4 separate regions of the Homo sapiens genome follow, and all the other regions are linked to region 4. The links are contacts of gene promoters, found by promoter capture Hi-C in blood cells and fetal thymus (Javierre and others, 2016). All regions are on one chromosome and are shown on one strand. Each heading gives the region's core, a stretch centred on a gene start or on the middle of the fragment in contact. The rest is flanking DNA. Distances are from core to core; before and after follow the strand shown.

What was found. Contacts are between HindIII fragments. The CHiCAGO score rates a contact against its expected background, and 5 or more counts as called.
Region 1: the fragment with the promoter of SLC25A40 here is called in contact with a fragment that was not itself captured in region 4 in 5 of 17 cell types (fetal thymus, total CD4 T cells, activated CD4 T cells and 2 more); the score reaches 11.7 in fetal thymus.
Region 2: a contact is called between the fragment with the promoter of GATAD1 here and a fragment that was not itself captured in region 4, in 3 of 17 cell types (activated CD4 T cells, naive CD8 T cells and total CD4 T cells). The highest score is 7.6, in activated CD4 T cells.
Region 3: a contact is called between the fragment with the promoter of RBM48 here and a fragment that was not itself captured in region 4, in 1 of 17 cell types (fetal thymus). The highest score is 5.6, in fetal thymus.

What each region holds. Positions count from the first base shown.
Region 1 is chr7:87,874,915-87,878,303 of GRCh38, reverse strand. It overlaps SLC25A40 (solute carrier family 25 member 40), which reads left to right and starts at 1,944. Exons shown (of 12, transcript NM_018843.4): 1 at 1,944-2,208. DBF4 (DBF4-CDC7 kinase regulatory subunit) reads right to left here and starts at 1,811. Exons shown (of 12, transcript NM_006716.4): 1 at 1,526-1,811; 2 at 79-251. The coding sequence starts at 1,571. RefSeq lists enhancers at 1,532-1,651, 1,839-2,348 and silencers at 1,712-1,971, 2,102-2,551. The HindIII fragment of the contact is 3,397 bases long and covers 1-3,368 here.
Region 2 is chr7:92,446,122-92,449,133 of GRCh38, reverse strand. It overlaps GATAD1 (GATA zinc finger domain containing 1), which reads right to left and starts at 1,652. Exons shown (of 5, transcript NM_021167.5): 1 at 1,156-1,652; 2 at 257-382. The coding sequence starts at 1,404. RefSeq lists an enhancer at 483-532 and a silencer at 963-1,732. The HindIII fragment of the contact is 4,596 bases long and covers 1-3,012 here.
Region 3 is chr7:92,527,500-92,530,802 of GRCh38, reverse strand. It overlaps RBM48 (RNA binding motif protein 48), which reads right to left and starts at 2,008. Exons shown (of 5, transcript NM_032120.4): 1 at 1,879-2,008; 2 at 1,137-1,327. The coding sequence starts at 1,989. It overlaps PEX1 (peroxisomal biogenesis factor 1), which reads left to right and starts at 2,283. Exons shown (of 24, transcript NM_000466.3): 1 at 2,283-2,496. The coding sequence starts at 2,368. RefSeq lists enhancers at 1,705-2,084, 2,685-2,864 and a silencer at 2,225-2,454. The HindIII fragment of the contact is 3,452 bases long and covers 1-2,196 here.
Region 4 is chr7:90,341,973-90,344,981 of GRCh38, reverse strand. The region is part of intron 1 of LOC107986715 (a long non-coding RNA gene); the gene reads left to right. It overlaps LOC101927446 (a long non-coding RNA gene), which reads right to left. Exons shown (of 6, transcript NR_110085.1): 6 at 888-2,737. Among named protein-coding and RNA genes, the nearest start is that of GTPBP10, 3.2 kb to the left of the region's middle. The HindIII fragment of the contact is 5,064 bases long and covers 1-3,009 here.

The DNA.
Region 1 (3,389 bases), core at 695-3,194, 2.5 Mb after region 4:
AAAAATTTAAATGATTACACAGTAGAAAGTACTAGTTACAAATTTTTCCTTCTATGCCAGTGTACGGTTTTCACTTACCCCTCCCAGATCCTTAATGTCCTTTTGAAGTTTTTCAGATATGGTGACAGAAGGTAAGTCAAGGTAAAATACTTTTCCCCAAAGTGGCTTACATTTGGATTTTTCTGGCCTGTTATCAGTTTTCAGAGATTTCAGAGATGGTCTGTTTTTTTCATTTTTGACTTGGATTCCACCTATTAAAGATGTTTAGAATCAGATGTTTTACACAGACACTTTTACTATTTTTAAAATATTTCATTATACAATATTACAGAATAAAAATCCTTACAACCCTACCAGTTTAAGTTATTAGCATTGAAATGTATTTCTTTGTAGTACTACTTAGGATAGAGGCAAAATGCCCTATATACTTTCACAGACCGCATATTGTAAAATAATAGTTGACTCAGCAAGAAATATTCGTGTGTTTATTCCTGAGGCACGGAACTATATAAAACTCTTTTGAAAGATTTTCTTTTTTTAGGATGTAAACTCCATGGGGATATTTAATACTCAACTATTTATTGAGCATCTGCCATTCTGCTGAACATTCAAAACTGGTGTTTAAACTTCATTTAGCGATGAAAGAATCCTCTGTTACGCAGAATAACCTAGTCCTCAAGGGTTTCAGACTGCTCAAGTTTTAGTTTCATATAAAGTTTGTCTGCATATTAACAACTAAACGGTCCATTTCACATACAATTTGTCTACGTATTAAGAACTTAACGGTCCATTACGAAGAACTAAACCTTTCATTATTTTCATTAGAAACAGATCTGAGATCCAAGCAACTGCTTTAAAAATTAATTTTTCAAACGCAATCTGTTCTTAAATTGGTAGTTACTACACACACACAAACACCTGTACAAAAAACTTAGGTGCTGGAATGTTTCACCAAATAAAGTGACTGAAAATGGAAATTTGCTTTTGTTTCCCTGTTTGTAATGTTGAAACCAGCAATGGGGTGTTTGAAATACAATGCTTTCCCCCAACTTATGAGGAAAGGAAAATAAACTTTCAAGGGTAAGACCAAAAATCCACCCACAATCACTCAATCTAATCCTGAAGCGAAAAGCCACGAGCGCGTCTGACTTTAAATTGAGGATGCAGTCCGTCGCCTCCAAGGGCCCGGGCGGAGGCTTAGCATATGCGAGAGCCCGGGAGCAGACAGCGCCGCAGTCCCGGCGAGGTCCCGGATCTGCACATTGTTTGCTAGTTTTCAACCGAAGGCACGACCGGGAATCAATCTGGGACCGCCGCTGTAAACGGCAGAGCGCTCGAGGGGCCGGGTCAGGATCCGTTCCTTCTTAGGCAAAACACTGAACGGGGGCTCCTTCCTTCAGACCCCAGAGGCCGGTCAGAAGAAAAGAAGCTGAGGACCCGGCGGGAGAAGTCTGAAGAATCAATGGTGGAACCACGAGGGGAGGAAAGGATTAAAGGGACTGCAGGCGGAGGAGGGGCTTCTTACCCTGGAAATGTCCTTTACTGTGGATCCTCATGGCTCCGGAGTTCATGGCAGTCGCCCGGCACCTACATGCTGGGTCCGGAGAAAGTGTCGCACCGGGCAGCCGCGAAAGCACGGCTTCCCCCGGCCTGTTGACAGGACGGCCGCCTCTCTCCTTCCGCCAGCTACGGCCTCTACGCAGTAGAGGTACCGCGTCTGCAGGTCGGGTTTCCGGGGCCGGATCCGGCTCCAAGGCGCGGAGGAGGAAGGCGCAAAGCACAAACGAGTGGGCTGCGGCGGTTGAAGATTTGAAAACGCGTCACGCGGCCGCGGCGCCGATACGCGCGCCCCGCCCCGTCTCACGCCACGCGCCGTGCCCCGCCTCGCGCTCGCCCCTCGTGCCTGCCTTCTCGCGCTGCGCGCCCCGCCCCCTCACGCCGCCGTCCTTCTCGCGCCTCGCTCTGGCCCTGCAGGTTGTGTTTCCGCCTCTACCCCGCCTCCATTCCGTTGCTCTCTCAGTCTCAGACCCGGGCTCTCGGTCCGCCGCTTCAGGTCTTGGCGCAGCCTCAGAGAGTTGGCGCGGCTCTGTGTTGACCAAACCTAGTGGATGCAGTTAGCGCCGGAGCCCGGCCCCGCCCGTCACCAGGGTTATTCCCGCCTTCTAGGTTTGCCAGGACTGCCGGCCCTGCAGCTGCCTTCTGCCCCAGGTATGCTAATTTTCCACTGGTCGGACGTCTGGGAAGCTGAAGGCGAGGGGCTTTGGCTGAGTCCGGACTCAGCTCTGGCCGGGCCCGGGGCCGGGGCCGGAACCGGAGCCGGACAGCGGCGGCAGCCGCAGCCCCTGCTCAGCGCGCCCTGGGTCGCACAGCAAGCGGGGTTTTCCCGCGGTCACTGCCGACCCCACCGGCTGAGGACAGCTGCAGAGGGACGTGCGGGAGTGAGGGCGGCCCCGGGGGGCGTCTGAGGGAGGGTCTGGCCAGGCGGCCCCGGCCTTGACGGCAGCGCCACCGCAGAACGCCTCCAGGTCACTTTGTGTCCTTGGGTAGTTGGCTATTTGCGCTGTCCTGTTGACTTTTATTGTATTCAGACCTGTTTTCTTTTAGTTGAGTGTAAGTTTATTTCAACAATGAAGGAGTGGAAAGTAACATCTCATTTTTTTTTCCTGTAAAACAGAGATTAAAGATCAAATTAAAATGCTTGTGAATATATTTTAATTTTATAAGTTGGAACATGCCTCTCCAAAAAAAAAAAAAAATCTGTTTCTTCAGGAGGAAGAGGATATTTTGAACTATTTTGCATTCCTCTACTCCAGGCCATAATAGGCACTCCTGTAGTGGTTGATTTTTTTACCTGGTAGCTCAAGGAAGTCAGAGTATCAGCGTTACGGTTTTGCAGGTAGGTACCTTAAAGAATAGACAAGGGTGGGTTGTGACAAGATTAGCTGGAGAACGCAGAGAACAGGTTTGCTAAGGGAAATGAGAGTTTGGTTTTAGACAGGTTTATGTTGAAGGGCCTGGGGCGACAGTCATGGAACTATGCTTATTAGACAGTTAAAGATGTTTATGACTCGAGAGAAATGTCTAGCAGAAGTGGACATGGGAAGAGGAAATAGAGATTGATTTGATATCTCTCCAATAAAATATTTCTGCATCAAGGTCTATTGATGTCAATCATGGGGCAATTCATTAGAGGTTAACAGATCTTGAGTGGTGGAAGGAAGTGTAGTTTGAACAAACATATTCAATATTGTAATTTCTATGGGAAAAAACTTATTTTCAAAATATAAGCTACAGAGAGCACAAAATGTTTATATTTACAGAAAGATTTAAAAAGTTGGGAAGCACTAATATAGAATGTAGTTAAAGCTTTGGGAGGAAATGAAATTGCC
Region 2 (3,012 bases), core at 403-2,902, 2.1 Mb before region 4:
TTTAAACCCATATTTTATATTTTCCAGGGGAAAAAATAAAAGCTAAAAAACAAAAAGGAAAGAGTATTATTAACTTTATAAACAGTGAGCCTCCTGCAACAGAGCTCATTCCCTTTTGGGGAATCTGGACCATTCCCCAGAATACTAAGGAAGGGCTACCAAGGGCAGAGTCCAAGTTCAATGGTGAGAAATGAAGGCAGTGGCAGGATACACACAACGTCATTACAGTAAAAGGCACTGTCCACAAATATCTTACATTTTTCAATTTAAATATATGTCTTCTCCCTTTTCCTTTGGTGGAGACTTTCTTTTCAGCAGCCGGAGCAGATTTGTATTTAGTGTTTCTGAGCCGAGCAGACCTCCTGTGAATTTCCTGCTTACTCTGTTACACAAACAAATTAAAGAACAAAAAGAGAAAGAAGTAAAAAGTGCATAAAGGTTGCAGTACAATCATCTTACAAGGATCCCAGAGTATGTACTTTATAAGAGCATTTAACAATTAAGATTGCCCTTTTGCTTTTCAAGAGAAGTAATTACAGCAACTAGGCTAAGTAAAACCGGAAGTTCAGCACCCGGAATCTCGGAGCTCGCTGGACAGGCGTCTCCAGAGCCTCCAAAAGGTGTGAGCTGCTTGTAATAGGGCAGGAGGCGGGAGTAGGAGTCAGTCTTGACCAAGACAAACACTATTCATTTGTTGTGTCTACAATAGAGAAAAACACTTAACAACTTTACTCCCTAAGGCCAGAGAACGTAGTAGGTTATGGCGCCCCCTGCAACGGAATACTTAAGCTGCCATTTACAATAATGACATAATAATCTTACTTCATAACCTGATATGACAAAACCTTTAACAAGGAATGAGGTCCAGCGCCTGCATTTGTGGCATGACACTGTATACGACTGTGTAGACATGTGTATATTGAGATTTTCTTAAGGGCTTTACATCTTGGTTCTTATTGCTTTGAATTTCTTACAATAACAGGTGCTTCGGAATGGGCCAAACGAAAGATCTCAGTAGGAGGTGGGGAGGGGCGTTCCAGCCAGCAGGAGCACGGCGATCGGGGAAGCCCGCGCCCGCCCGCTCCCAGCCAGCCCGTCCCCGCCCGCCTAGCACCTGGTCGGCCTCCGCCGGCGGGAGGGGCCGGAGGAGCTCACCTGCTTGCCGCCCCCGCCCCCGTTGCTCTGCGGAGGGGTGGCGGAGGTGCTGGCGAAGGTCGCCGCGCCGAAGCCGCCGCCGCCGCTGCCCCCAGTCCCTCCAGCCGCCCCCGAGCCTGCGCCCCCGCTGCCCGCGCCGCCCCGGCCAGTGCAATGATGGCAGAGGATCTCCCCCTGCGCTCCCTTCTTCCACATGGAGGACGACGTGGTCTTGCATACGCTGCAGGTGGGCTTCAGGCCCAGCGGCATGGTGGCCGGCTCGGGCGGCCCCCGCGGGCGCAGAGACACGGGAATGGCGGACGGTAGCCCGGCCGCCCCCTGGTCGGCCCGCCACTCCCGGCGATAGGAAGAGCGGTGAGAGCGTCGGCACGGAGCTGCCGGTGAAAGGACCAGGCCGCTGGCGCTGCCCCGTGGAGGCGGGAAGCGGGTTCCGCCGGCTCCGCAGGCGGAGGCCAGGATTCCCTGGCCCGAGGCACTGGGAAGCAGGACTGGGAAAGGGATCTGGCCGGGGTGGGGGGGACGCGGAGACTTCCGGCGGTGAGCTGGCCCCAGGGCCCCGCAGCCCGACCGCCTGACCGGAAGTGCAGCACCCGGAATTACTGGGAGCTTGCTGCAGTTCCGCTTGCTGTCGCCTAGGGGCAGGGTTCTCAAACTTTTTGGTCTCAGGCCTAGAATTTGCCGGGTAAAATACAGGACGCCCAATTAAATGTGACTTTCAGGTAAACGACGAACAATTTTTTTAGCGTGAGTGTATCCCATGCAATAATGGTTTATCCGAGAGGCGTTTAACTGGGGGTCCTGTATTTTTATGTGCTAAATCTGGCAATCCAGGTCTGGCGTGGTGGCTCACGCCTGCAATCCCAGCACTTTGGGAGACCAAGGCCGGCGGATTACTTGAGCTCAGGAGTTCGAGATCAGCCTGGCCAACGTGGTGAAACCCCTTCTCTAATAAATATACAAAAATTAGCCGGGCTCAGTGGCGGGCTCTGGGGTAATCCCAGCTACCCTGGAGGCTGCGGCAGAAGAATCTCTTGAGCGCGGGAGGTGGAGGCTGCAGTGAGCCAAGATCGCGCCATTGCACTCCAGCCTGGGGGATAGAGTGAGACTCCGTCTCAAAAAAAAAAAAAAAATCTGGCAATCTTACTTAGGAACCCTTTACACTCTTAAAAATTATACTTTGGACATCGCCCTACACCTCCCCCATGTCTATACTTTTGTTTAGTTGAATTCAGAGCATGCCGTTTATGGACATCGACAAAGGGTTCAGAAAATGCCATCCACTGACATCTATGTATTAGAAATTGAAATTGAGACATTTTACAGCCTAAGATGTCAAGCGCACATTCTTCAGCCGTTGGATAATATCGTTGCAAATCCTGTGGACTCTGAAGAGTATACCGATTAGAGAATGCGGAGAAAATCGAATAGCTGGCTGTTATTCAATTCAAAACTGTTGGAAAACAGTTTTGGCTCTGAGGACCCAGCAGTTGACAAACAGCAGGCCTGGGACAAGAGCAGTATGAGAAGTCAGATCGCCTCTTTTAATGTCACTAGTCAGTACAGGCCTCGCCAGACAAGTCTCTCCTCAGCCTCACTTGGAAGAACATGCCCTCTCTTCATGATCCTGGGTTTCCTAGACTTAGTATCCTTGGAAAGGTCTTGATGAATATATTGTGGTGGGAAGCAGTGGGGAGAAACAAACGCCTATTATGTCACAAAACCACATTTAGTGCTTATAACAACCTTGGAATGAGATATTATCAGATTTTACTGTTAATTGGTGATCAACGGAGGCACTTCTATGTGGACTGGCTGTCATTATAGCTGCTGCCCTTGGCACCAATTTCGAGGAGGGCT
Region 3 (3,303 bases), core at 759-3,258, 2.2 Mb before region 4:
TTTTTTTGAGACAGTCTCACTCTTGCCCAGGCTGGAGTGCAATGGCATGATCTTGGCTCACTGCAACCTCCACTTTCTGGGTTCAAGTGATACTTGTGCCTCAGCCTCCCCAGGAGCTGGGATTAAAGGTTTGCACCAACACAGCCGGCTAATTTTTGTATTTAGTAGAGTGAGGGTTTCACCATGTTGGCCAGACTGGTCTTGAACTCCTGACCTCAGGTGATCCACCTACCTCGACCTCCCAAAGTGCTGGGATTACAGGTGTGAGCCACGTGCCTGGCGTCAAACCAGAATTTTTTTTTTTTTTTGAGACAGAGCCTTGCTCTGTCATCTAGGCTGGAGGGCAGTGGCATGATCTCTGCTCACTGCAATCTCCACCTCCCAGGTTCAAGCAATTCCCATGCCTCAGCCACCTGAGTAGCTGGGACTACAGGTCCGCACCACCACACCCGGCTAATTTTTGTATTTTTAGTAGAGGAGGGGTTTCCATCATGTTGGCCAGGCTTGTCTTGAACCCCTGACCTCAAGTGATCTGCCTGCCTCGGTCTCCCAAAGTGCTGGGATTACAGGCGTGAGTCACCACGCCCAGGCTTCAAACCCAAATTTTTTTTTTTTTTTTTTTTTTGAGGCAGAGCTTCCCTCTTGTTGCCCTGTCTGGAGTGCAATGGCGCAATCTCGGCTCACTGCAACCTCTGCCTCCCGGTTTCAAGCGATTCTCCTGCCTCAGCCTCCCGAGTAGCTGGGATTACAGGCCTGCGCCACTAGACCCAGCTAATTTTGTATTTTTAGTAGAGAGGGGGGTTTCACCATGTTGGCCAGGCTGGTCTCAAACTCCTGACCTCGTGATCCGCCCACCTCGGTCTCCCAGAGTGCTGGGATTGCAGGCGTGAGCCACCGTGCCTGGCCAAACCCAACTTCTACTCTACCAAGCTACAGGACATTAAATTGTTAAGCATGGGAATGATGTGATGGATACAGTGTTTCAGTAAAGTTAACTTTTAAAAAGGCTGGAGGAAGATATGCTAGATTACGTTTTGGGGTAATTCAGTTATGAATGAGGGAAACTTGGGGCCAAAATGACAGAAATATGAATGGAAGAAATGAGGAAATGAGTCATTTCTTAACTTGCACATTACCTTGCACTTTGTAAGTTCATAAATTTAATAAGATAAACTTCAGTAAAGTCTTCTGCTGGGTATTCATCTAGAGCATTGTACTGTTCAATTGCACCATATAAAGCGAATCGCTCAACTAATTCCTTCATGACTCCCACAGCAGGAACTCCTTGTATTAATAAGTACTGAGATTCCAAATTGATTGTATATACCTGAAAGAAATGCAGAGTTATTAAACGTATTTCGCAAATAAGCCTAGGACGAATCTGCCTCTATTTTTTTTTAAAGAGAACTTTGAAAACAAGAAATAATCTGTTCAACCCAGTCAGCAAAAGAACACAAAATGAAATTTCTGCCATTCCTTCTGCATAAAGAATAACAGTCCATGTGAGAGGCTACCTAAGGCATATAACAGACTACCTTCAGTCGACATTTTTTTCCAGAAATTGAGTCGGTAGAAGTCACTGGGAACAATCACTCAACGAATATTCACTGAGTGCTTACCTGTGCCAAGTAGTACTGTAAACACAGAAGATCCAATGACTAAAACCAAGGCCTATTCTCGTGGAGTTGATGTTCTAATACTTGACCAAAGGCGTCGTGAGAATCTTTGGTAACTGACCGAGGGTTCTTCACGCCAGCTCTAACGAGAGACAGATCTGACGGAAGCCTTGTCGTGCCTTTATTTCCGTAGGCTGGTCATATGGCGCTAGCACTCACATAAAGCTACCGAGGAGAGCGAATGAAACCAAAATCACTTTACCTTCACAGCACGAGGCCGTCGTCCCTCTCGATATTTGGCCCGTGTGTCGCATACCGCCCTCTGGACGTGGTGATCAAATAAACTCCCTAGCTCCCCGCCGCTCGACGCCATCTTGCCTACTTTGATCCTCGCAGGGAGGACAACATCCGCCCTACTGAGCTCCCTTTTATCCAATAAGAGAGCGGGATGAGTTAAGGAGTGCCAGGATTGGCTGGAGAATCGACAGCGTCGGCCATCGTTTCCTGCGTGCGAAGATTTGATGAACGAGGTGCCGCCCCCGAGCGGCTCGGCGGAGAGGCGCGGTGGGTGACAGAAGCTTTCTTGTCCCACCCACTACAGGCTTACGGCAGGATGCGCAGCGGGGAGAGGGGGCGGGGCCGCAGGGGGCGGGGCCGATCGATCTCCTCCGGCTCCGACGTCCTCGGCCTGCCGGGTCCCGGGTCCTTTGCGGCGCTAGGGTGGGCGAACCCAGAGCGACGCTCCGGGACGATGTGGGGCAGCGATCGCCTGGCGGGTGCTGGGGGAGGCGGGGCGGCAGTGACTGTGGCCTTCACCAACGCTCGCGACTGCTTCCTCCACCTGCCGCGGCGTCTCGTGGCCCAGCTGCATCTGCTGCAGGTAACCTGCCGGCCCCGAGCCACCTGATCTTCAGCCTGGGGTCGGACGAGGCCGAAGCCTCTCAGGGACGCGGCGGGACACCGGCTGCCACCCGGGCGCCGCCGAAGCGCGCAGAGATCAGGGTCCCTCGACGGCAGGGCCCTTCTGGGTAGTCTCTGGATCCCACAAGTCCAGTGCAGCCCTGGGCTCGTCTTATCCCAGGTCTTTTCACTTGGTGAAACTGAACCTAGAAACGTCCTAATATTCTACCACTGTTTTTATAAATATTCCTTATTCCAGGCTGGAAAAGCTCCTGAGAAGTGGTTTGTTTTTATTATTTTAAAAGGTGTTTTCCTTGCCAGCCATTTCCAGTTAACCTGCGCTGCTGCCGTCCGGGCCGCGAGAGCGGGACGCAGAGTTGTTGGCGGAGCCCCTGTCGGTTCCCGGGGACTAAGCACCGCGTCCCATGAGCGGGAAAGGTTAATACAATGATGGTTCTGCCCTGCGTCGCTGACGCGGAACACAGCTGTAGTGTGTTAGGAACACATAACGTAGTTAAGATCACTTGAAGCTCTGCGATCAGTCGCCCTTCTGGACGTTGTGGTTAGGATGTTTCACAGTTCTAACCACTGGTGGAGATACAGCGTCCATATTTTCATAATTAAAAATAGAGGCACATGGTCTCACGAGTTTGAGTGTACTTATGGGGGCAAAAGGACGGCGTATTTGAAATCCTCATAAATCCTGGATGCATGGTACCCACCAGTGGCTAATCTATGCAATGAATAGAGTTTGCAATAATTTCAAGCATCCCTTCTTTCCACTTGA
Region 4 (3,009 bases), core at 128-2,627:
AAGCATAATATTTACCTCTGACAAAATGTGGTCAGGGCCTGAAGTATTTATTATAACTCTCATTACCAGATAGTAAAAGAAACATTGTGTAACTGGAAACTGTCCCCTTTAAAATGTGCAGCTAAAATGAACATGAGGCAAAATGTTTAGGACACTATTCAGACCTAAGGCAGAAGTCATTGTTGGAAAATACTACTACTTCTGCCATGAAGAGGAAAGAATGCCTCCTTAGGGTTGCTCAGTTTGATGTATGGGCAAACCATTAAAGTCAGTGGCACTAAAGAGTCTTGAATAAAGTCCCAAATAAGCCATCGACATGACTCACAATTTGGTTTTAAAAATATTTTAAAACAGGCCAGGCGCAGTGGCTCACGCCTGTAATCCCAGCATTTTGGGAGGCCGAGGCGGGTGGATCACGAGGTCAGGAGATGGAGACCATCCTGGCTAACACGGTGAAACCTCGTCTCTACTAAAAATACAAAAAATTAGCCGGGCGTGATAGTGGGCGCCTGTAGTCCCAGCTACTCAGGAGGCTGAGGCAGGAGAATGGCGTGAACCTGGGAGGCGGAGCTTGCAGTGAGCCGAGATAGCGCCACTACACTTCAGCCTGGGCGACAGAGAGAGACTCTGTCTCAAAAAAAAAAAAAAAAAAAACAAAACAAAACCATATATATACACACATACATATATACATACATATACATATATACATATATACATATATACACATATATACATATATATGCATATATACACATATATACATATATACATATATACACATATATACATATATACATATATACACATATATACATATATACATATATACACACACACACACAATAATGAGGGTTATGAAAAAATTTAATATAGAGTTGTTCTAATTACAATTTTAAATAATTTTATTTTGAAGTACTTTTTAATTTACAGAAGTTACAAAAATAGCCAAAAGAGATTCCATGTAATCTTTATCCAGTTTGCCCGAATGTTAACATCTTTTATAACCATTTTTCAAAACTAAAAAAATTAATATTGCTAGAATATTAACTAAACTACAGACTATTTGCTTTCACTGGTTTTTCACCTATGACTTTACTCCAGGGTCTAATACTAACACCACATTGCATTTAATCTAACATTTAATGTAGATACACTTAAGCATAAAATAGACAAATATATAATTAACAAATCTAATATTTTGTGATGTTATATTGCTTAATTTTGTCAGCAGACTAAAATGAAAAGTGTCTAACTTCATTCTGGGCTTTGCAGATTATTTCAATTGATCTTGTGTCATCATCTCAACTGCTTTTAATTAGATTTCTACCTTTTGTCTATCATGCTTTTAGTTCTGCTTGTTCAAGAGTCCCTAACAAGGTCCGTCTGGCTCAGGCCTTGTAATCAGTAGATACTCTAGGAATATTTGTTAATTTATTCAAACGAAAGACAAGAACTAGATTGCTAACTCCTATAGCATACGAATCACCTGAAGTGGAGCATCGAGTTATTCTTACTCATTAGCCTTATAATCCTTCAGATGTAACAAATCAAATATTATTTGTTTCATGCCGTCAAAATATTACAAGTCTGAGAACCATTATATCTCCCAAATGATGAAGTTAAATGGATCAAACAAATGAGGTTTACATACTAGGTAAGACCTCTTTGAGTAAAAATGAAGTATTCTCAAAGAGAGGGCCTCAGGCCATGTAATTATTGTCTTCAAACAAGGCCTATGTGAGGGAAAAAAAGTGGATTTATCTCATTGCCTTTCTTCCTAGGAACTTACACTTCAACTATTCATTCATTTATTCATGCATTAATATAATAATTTCTGTGTTCTGAATTTGTCCCACATACTCAGCTATGTGCTGGAACACTGTCATGGGTACTGAAATAACTAAGCAAGAATAAGCAGAGTAGTTGTGTCAATGACAGAAAGAAGTAAATTTTAATCTTTCTGATACCTGTATTCATAATGAGTGGAGGAAATTTATTCCTATGGAACATGATTTTACTTCGCTGTTAAGGCACTTTGCTTTTAATTTGAAGGATATAATGTAAAGGTTACTTTTTAGGAAGCATTTCTAGAAATCTTGAGAATTAGAATCATTTTTTTAAGACCCCCATTTAAGACCACCTGTACTAGAGGAATAAAACTATTTTAAGGGTCTTCTACTATCCTATTAGTCATCGGTTAGTCTCATTTTTTATACTTTATTTCAATCATTGATAGATGTAAGAATGGCAGTGGAATTATCAGAAGAGACTTTCATGATAATGCTTCCTGTTTGTTCAAACAAGAGGACTTATGAGCAGAAAAGTTCGTAATGTATTCAGGATTCTCACTTACTGATCTCATTTTCTTTGCTTCTTGTTACTGAGATTTCATAAAGCAATAACCACTGACAGTAAATTAAAATTCTTAGATAATATGAATAAGAAACAAAAATAAGAGGCCAGGCATAGTGGCTCACAGCTGTAATCCCAGCACTTTGGGAGGCCAAGGCAGGTTGGTCTCTTGAGTCCAGGAGTTTGAGACCAGCCTGGTGACATGGCAAAACCCTGTCTCTACAAAAAACACAACAAATTAGCTGGGCATGATGGCACACACTTGTAGTCTAAGCTGCCTGTGAGGCTGTGGTGGGAAGATCACCTGAGCCCAGGAGGTTGAGGCTGCAGTAAGCCATGATGATGCCAATGCACTCCAGTCTGGGTGACAGAGTGAGACTGTCTTTAAATAAATAAATAAATAAAATAATGAAATCAGTGCTTATATTAGCGTGTTCATGTGTTATTTTAAGTATTTATTACTACCACATCATAAATTAATCAGAATATTCCCCTTCAAAGGAGATATTGTAAGAATATGTTAGTCATTGTCCTATGCATGTATTATAGACTATCACTCTATACATGGTAAGCTACAGCATTGGGCAGAATAGTAATTGAGCACAATTGTTCCCATTGTATATTCCACATACAACACATAACAGAGTATACTCT